Linked DNA regions of Homo sapiens: region 1 is linked to region 2. The links are contacts of gene promoters, found by promoter capture Hi-C in human tissues and cell types (Jung and others, 2019). All regions are on one chromosome and are shown on one strand. Each heading gives the region's core, a stretch centred on a gene start or on the middle of the fragment in contact. The rest is flanking DNA. Distances are from core to core; before and after follow the strand shown. Region 1 overlaps BICD1 (BICD cargo adaptor 1). Region 2 holds the start of BICD1 (BICD cargo adaptor 1).

Region 1 (3,628 bases), core at 603-3,102, 63 kb before region 2:
TGTGTGTATTTTTTGAGACCAAGTCTTGCTTTGTTACCCAGGCTGGAGTGCAGTGGCATGATCTTAGCTCAGGGCAACCTCCGCCTCCTGGGTTCAAGCAATTCTCCTGCCTCAGCCTCCCAAGTAGCTGGGACTACAGGTGCACGCCACCATGCCCAGCTAATTTTTACATTTTTAGTAGAGACCGGGCTTCACCATGTTGGCCAGACTGGTCTCCAGCTCCTGACCTAGAGTGATCCATCCGCCTCGGCCTCCCAAAGTGCTGAGATTATAGGTGTGAGCCACTGTGCCTAGCCTAGTTTATAATTTTTTAAACATAAATATAAAAACCACCAACAAAGAAAAGCACTCATATTGCCATCTCAGTCATAGCAGGACTGTGGCATAGCCTTACTGTGTACTCCAGACAAGGTGCCCCAACTGAGGAACCACAGAAGAAGAACGCCCTGAAGGCTGTGTCTGCAGACTTGAAGTGATAAGGAAAGGAAAGCATCACCATCTAGCTCTGCATAAGAATACCTAGTGCCACGCTCCCCAGGATCCTAATTTACAATGTGATTCCATTTTTAAAACAACAGCAAAGCTTTATTTCCAGGTCCCACAGCATCGCCTTCGGGGCCCAGCTGTGACTCCAAGACCAGGCTGGCAGTCCTGCCACGCCCTGGAACACTGGCAGAGGGAAAAGGGCATGGGACACCAGGCATGTGTTACTAAGTCTCCCACCTGATCGTGACGTGTGTCGCCTCTGTTCACATTTCATAGGCCCAAACAAGTCAAGTAACCATGTCTGCTTTCAACAGGCGGGAATGTAGAATTTCTCTATTGAGAGGCATCCCCAGGAGGAGCAGTAAACTTCTAAGAACGGTCTATCATAATAGACATCTTTGTCTTGTTCTCAGTTTTGAAGGGAAATTTCTCATCATTTTGCTATATTTTAAGAATGAATTTGGGCAATTAAATATTAAATCTTATATTTGAAGGTCAGGTCACAAACTCCCTGGAGTCTGAAAAATGACAGGATTGGCTAGATCAGGGCTTCTCGTCCTCGGCAGTAGTGACATGCTGGTGTGGGGGCTGTCCTGTACACTGTCGGGTTCTTGGCAGCTTTCCTGACCTCCATCCCTAGAAGCCAGTAGCACCCACCTCAGTTGTGACCAAAAATATCTCCGGAAATAACCAAATGTCTCCCTGGTTGAGAATCACTGGACCAGATAATCTCTAATGTCATTTCAAACTCTGAAATTCAATGCTCCACTAATCTCTCCTCAAACTGATAAGACCCTTTGCCAAATTTTGGTCACATAAAATTATGCCAGCCCAAGAACTCTACAATCCGTACAGTGGCATTGTGTAAAAAAGACTTCACCTGCTGAGGACATAGAATCTAGATCCATGAGCCTTCTAATACGCTAACTACAATTCTATAACCTTTAAAGAGTTGAGTACAATGCAGAGAAATGACTAAATAATATTGTTGTAGAAGGTGAGGAATCAGGTCTTTTTATATAAGTAATGTTTAGGCTCTGGCCCAAGAAGGTTTTGTTCATAAGTGGCTCAGACATATTTTATTTATTGAATGTATATCCTGCCTCATTCCAAAAAGCATTTAAGGCAGCTTACAAAGAGGCATACAAAATAAAATGGAAAGGAAGTAAGAAAAATAGGGGGAAACAGGTAAGGAACAGAGAAAACAAATATTCCAATCCAAAAAGTCAATACCATTTCTGTGACTCTAGCAGTTATTTTTTCTTTTTCAGAGCATGAAACTGAGCTCAGAATTTCAGGATGCCTAAGAGAAAGTTGGAAATAAAATAATTAATTTGCCTTCTCAGAGAAGGGAATTATTTGCTAGTGAAACAAGGTTTTTCTTAGGATTAAACTCAGGGACAGGTTTCATGTGGGCCCTGTGTGGGGAACAAGTGTGAAAAGGACCCGTGTCAACTCCACATTCTCGCCTCTACAGTGTCACAGCTAAGCCTGTTCTTATATGAACTTTAAATACAATTTAAAAGCATAACTTTGAAACACAGTTTGGTGAAAGTGTATCTTGGGGGCCAGGCGCAGTGGCTCATGCCTGTAATCCCAGCACTTTGGGAGGCTGAGGCCAAGTCAGGAGGATCACTTGAGCCCAGGAGTTCAAGACCAGCCTGGGCAACACAGTGAGACTCTGTCTCAAAAAAAGGAAGTGTATCTTTGGAAGCTAAAGCCACATGGGTAGAACTTTTTAACAAAAGCTGTCCAGCGACCTAGGTTATCAAAGGATAATATATCATTTTCCTACAGAAATAATTTTTCAAAGTGTGGTTAGCAGAGAAAACTTTTCTTCAAAGAGAACCTTCTAGAAAAGTCTAGTATATAAAATGGGTCCAGGCTGGGCACAGTGGCTCACGCCTGTAATCCCAACACTTTGAGAGGCCGAGGCGGGAGGATCGCTTGAGCCCAGGAGTCTGAGACCAGCCTGGGCAACATAGCAGAGAGCTCGTCTCTACTAAGAAAAAAAAAATTAATGGAAAAAATGGGTCCAGGCCAAGCTGCTTCTTCCCTTCCTTTCACTCTCTCCCCTCCTCAGAAGGCCTCAGAAGGAGAACTGAATTCTCCTGTGGCAGAATTCAAAAGCCACTAGCCTGAAAATAAAACTTCAAATACCTAGAAAAGATTCAACAGTTCAATAAATATTTATTGTGCTAAGTATCAGAGTAGGTAAATTTTATCTATTATTTTTCTTGAAAATAATTTTTCCATTGATCTTTTTACGAGATAATTAACCGTTCCAGGTACAATTCCCCATCAGAGCCTGAGTGCTCACTGAACCCAGATCCTTAAACTCCACAGAGTTAATCACAGAGCCCACCTTCTACTACAGAAACTAAAGCTCCTGAGCAGATTCCATGCAGGGGCAAGGCTGTCCCATCTCCTCACAACAGATGGGCACAAAGCAAGGGTTTTTCTCAATGGTCAATTTTGGGTTTGTTTGTTTGTTTGTTTGAGATGAAGTTTCGCTCTTGTTGCCCAAGCTGGAGTGCAATCGCGCGATCTCGGCTCAATGCAACCTCCGCCTCCCGGGTTCAAGCGATTCTCCTGCCTCAGCCTCCCGAGTAGCTGGGATTACAGGTACCCGCCACAAACACCTGGCTAATTTTTGTATTATCAGGGTTTCACCATGTTGGCCAGGATGGACTCAAACTCCTGACGTCAGATGATCCACCTGCCTTGGCCTCCCAGAGTGCTGGGATTACAGGAGTGAGCCACCGTGCCTGGCCCTCAAGGGTCAACTTTGGATACACAGTGGACCCGATTAAGAGAGTGGTTCACATCCCAAGTTCCTGCCTTGCTCAGCATGGCTGAGACAGTTTGGGCCTGAAATGTTTTCAGCACAAATGTTATCAGTGATCGACCGCTGTTAGGACTTTCTGGTTCCTGTTCTCAGGCAACTGTTCTCACCTCAATCTCAAGGACACCCAACCCCACCCTCCCATCCTTTTCCCATGAAGCCCGGGTTGAAACCACTGAGCAGTTGGCTTCCATGCCTTGCCCTGGACCCTCATCTGCTTTTGCCCCTTAGTATGAACTGAGGGTCTTCAAAGAAATGACTCACCCAAGCCAAGTCTCACCATGTGAGTAGAAAACA
Region 2 (3,718 bases), core at 971-3,470:
TGATGGCTTACCACTTTCTGGTTTGCACTTCCCTATCTTGGCAAAGCAGTGTTGATAGGTATAGACAATATCAAAACATCTCTGAGAATGACAGTCATCATCCTGCTTCCTCACTTCACAAGGTTTAGCATCACTGCATTTAAACATGTCAGCCTAATCTAAGTTGGAAAATATAAACAAGTCCAGCTGTTGTTAAGACCAGACAGGTACATGGTAAGTAAAATAGGAACCAGAAATTTACAGCCTGACACACAAAAATTAGATTCCTAGTTGGGATTTTTAATCATAGGTAGTACATTTATTTTTTGGTAGACAGGCATCCAAATAAAAATAAGACATATCTAAAAGTATAAATGCTTACCATATTACACACTAAATTGGAAGGCAAGTTGATTCAGTATGTCATAAATCACATCTTTTAACTGTAACAGCATAAAATAAATAATAGATTTTTGATATTATATGCCAAACAATAATTAACATTTAAATGTCAATATGCACCTAAAAATAAGGACTTGACACACAGAAAAGGAGTGTATATTACATTTAAATTTGTAAGTGGTTATTTGCTACCCATAGTGCCTCAAGAATCAGATAAAAAAGACCGAGTTACTTAAACAATATGTATGTTCTTAAGAGTGACTGATAGGAAATCAAAGCACGTTCATTGTTTTCTCCCATACATCCGACAGGCTTTAAAAGAGGCCAAATACCAAAAAACTAAAGAGACATTATACATCACCCATTTTTGATATTCTGGTTTTATAAATATATCATTTCAACCAGAAGAGCCTCATTTGAAATGCAACACTACCCACGTATTTGATATACACCACTCTTTCAGACTATTTGTAGGTGAGTTCAATTTTTTCTAGTCAGGGTGACCTCATAAGACTTGGACATGGCCCAGCCTCGCTCCGAGGTGAAATCAAGGCAGTGGGATCACCCAGCAAAGTTGTTTTTCTTCTGCAGCCCAATGACAAGAATGACTAAAGCCAAGCAGAATGAAGATTGCCTAGCCTTTGTCAAATGGGATTGGTGAGGAGTTCCCTCTCTCACCAAGGAGTGGTTACATCCAGAGGAAAGCTGAGGTGCCACACAGTCTAAATCCTGAAATTGTGGGTCCTCAGGCACAAACCTCATCACTTTTGTGGACTACGAAATTGTCGCTGAAACCTGGGTTTGAGATAACAGCGGTTTTGAGAAGTTTGATTTATACATTCCAACCCACTTGAATGTCGTCTTAGAGTGCTGAGACTTGATGACTCTTACTAATCTCCCTCCCCCGCAGGCCAAACAGCCATTGCCTCCCAAATTCCAGCTTATATATTCATTTCTTAGGCAATTTTTCTCTTGGGGGAGGAAACAATGGACTCTTTCAATCTTCTCTTACCAACAAAGGGCCCTAGAAGAAAAAACAGTCCTTTCAATCACCTCCTTTATGACTTCTTGATCATGATGAGTGGGCCTTGCGGGTGGGGGGAGTGAGGGCCAGGAAAGGGAGAGGTGACAGGCAACTCACCTCTTTGAGCTGCTCCAGCTCCTGTTTGAGGCTGTCGTACTCAGCCTCCAGTTCATCATACTGCTGTTTGAGGGTCAGCTTCTCCTCCAGCACCACCAGCCCGTACTCGGCAGCCTGGATCTTCTCGTGGGTGGTCTCCGTGAGCTCCTTGGTTAGCCTCTCTATCTCAGTCTTATAATGGTCCACCGTCTGCAATACCTCTTCTGCGGCCATAGCCCCGGTGGATGGAGGCAGGAGGGGGTTACGGGGTGGGGGAGATGGATGCGAAGCTGGCGGGGAAAGGGAGAAGGAAATGGGAAGGGATGGGTGGAAACGGAAAAGAAAGTGCGGCCGGATGAATGAGCAGCGCGATGCCCCGCCGGCTCTGGTGGCAGCGGCAGCTACACCGCCCGAGAAACTGACGAGAAATGCAACATGGAGAACAGGGCAGAGGGTCAGGGGCGAGGCGGCAAAGGCCGCCGCATGTGTCCTCGGGGCCGGCCCCTGCGTGCGGTCAGCAGCCGTGCGGCATGGCCCGGGCTGCGGCGGCCGCGGGTAGCGAGGGGCTCCGGATTCTGCTTATTCAGAGACGCCCGTCCGCCATGTCTCCCGGGCCGCGTCACTGCAGTCTCGCCCTGGGTCTGGCGCGCTCCGGCTCGCGGCTCGCTCTCTCGCTCCACCTGCTCCCTCTGGCCCTGCAGCAGCCGGTGCGGAATGATGCAGTCTCGGGGCCGGCTCCCTCCCTTCCCGCGTGGCGGCGGCTCCGAGCAGGGGGCGGGGAGCGGATGGAGTCAGCGCGGGGGGCGGAGGGAAGGACCAGACGGAAACATCCCGAGGCGCCTCCCGCCGGGCGCGCGGGCCGCCGCCCGCTGCACCGTGAGGCGCGCCAGGAGGAGGCGCAGGCGACGGGTCTGGGACTGGGAAGCGGTGGGGCGCGCGCGGCGGGGGAGCCTCCGCCCTGTCCGGCTCGCGGGGGCGGGAGCTCCTCCCAGGGCTTTGTCCCGGTGGCAGTAGAAGACCCCGAGAGCGGCGTGGGCGCCCGGGCTCTTTTGCTACGTCGAGGGCCGAAGCTCAGGAAACTGCCTGGAACGCTTTCTCCCGAGAAAAGCAAACAAAACTATCGCGGTCGCGGTCCGCGCATCCTCCTCGTCCCCTGGGCGCGCAGAAGGCTTTTTGGGCCACCTGCCCCCAAAAGACCGCTGGGTTTCCCAAAGCTTTCAAGACGCACCCCAAGGCGCCCTCCTCCGTCGTCCCCCTCTCTCCCTGCCTCTCCCAAGTCTGGCCTGGGCCACCTAACACTCTCACCAGATAACCTTACTATCCTCACAGGACAGTCCGCTAAATATTGCTCGCCCTCACCCAGCGTATCACAAGAGCGCTATCCACTCAGAAAAAAAATATCTCCACAATACATGCACCCAGGAAACCTCTAGCTAGGTACTGTATATCTTGCCCCAATAGTTTCCATCAAAGCACCTTACTCTGTGTCTTCAATAAAGGAAAACTGCTTGAAATTCCCTATATAAGATACCAACGATGCCCTGTAATAAGCATTTTTTAAACAATAAGAGCTAAGAGTTCTTGAGACCCATACCAAGCATTCTTCTAAGTATGTAACATGCGTTCTCTCCAATCCTAACAATGCTTTGAGGTAAGAGCCATTATCCTCAGTTTACAGGGGGTGAAAGGCAAAGGGAGATGTGATTTGTCCAAAGTCAGGCAACTCTGGAATCTTAACTCGGGAGCACTAAACGGGATCATTATGTTGGCTTCAGGTTCACTCATTACTCATACAAACCCAGCAACTACATATTACATGCTTTTAAGATAATCACATTAATCCATATGAAGAGTGATGATGAACGGTTACAAAAGGAGGTGAAAGCAAAGTAAGAGTGGAGTAAATGAAAGAGTGGAGAAGGGTCGAGAATCAAGAGGAAGAACGCAACATGAGAGAAAAGAAGCAATTTCTGTGTAACGGGAGGCTGTGAGACCCACAGATCAGTGGGTCTTTCCAGTTCCCTCTCTTCTTCTGCATGGCACCTATTCCAGAGCTGTTTCTCAGTGACCAGGTGATGAACACACATGCGTTTTCTAAGTTAGAAAGCAGGACTCAACTCTCCCATCATTGTGTACCTGGTAAAAAAAAAAAAAAAAAAAAAAAAGATGATTGTTGACCGGGCACAGTGGCTCACGCCTATAATCCCAGCACTTTGG

The links. The method cuts DNA at HindIII sites, captures the fragments that hold promoters and counts their contacts. A contact is called where the count stands out against the background at its distance.
Region 1: a contact is called between a fragment that was not itself captured here and the fragment with the promoter of BICD1 in region 2, in 1 of the 25 tissues and cell types used here (pancreas).

The regions. Positions count from the first base shown.
Region 1 is chr12:32,168,320-32,171,947 of GRCh38, reverse strand. All of the region lies in intron 1 of BICD1 (BICD cargo adaptor 1), which reads right to left. Among named protein-coding and RNA genes, the nearest start is that of BICD1-AS1, 63 kb to the right of the region's middle. The HindIII fragment of the contact is 6,487 bases long and covers 1-3,628 here.
Region 2 is chr12:32,105,349-32,109,066 of GRCh38, reverse strand. BICD1 (BICD cargo adaptor 1) reads right to left here and starts at 2,220. Exons shown (of 10, transcript NM_001714.4): 1 at 1,523-2,220. The coding sequence starts at 1,735. BICD1-AS1 (BICD1 antisense RNA 1) reads left to right here and starts at 1,605. Exons shown (of 3, transcript NR_185992.1): 1 at 1,605-1,673. RefSeq lists enhancers at 613-1,250, 1,778-1,857 and a silencer at 2,218-2,697. The HindIII fragment of the contact is 20,031 bases long and covers 1-3,718 here.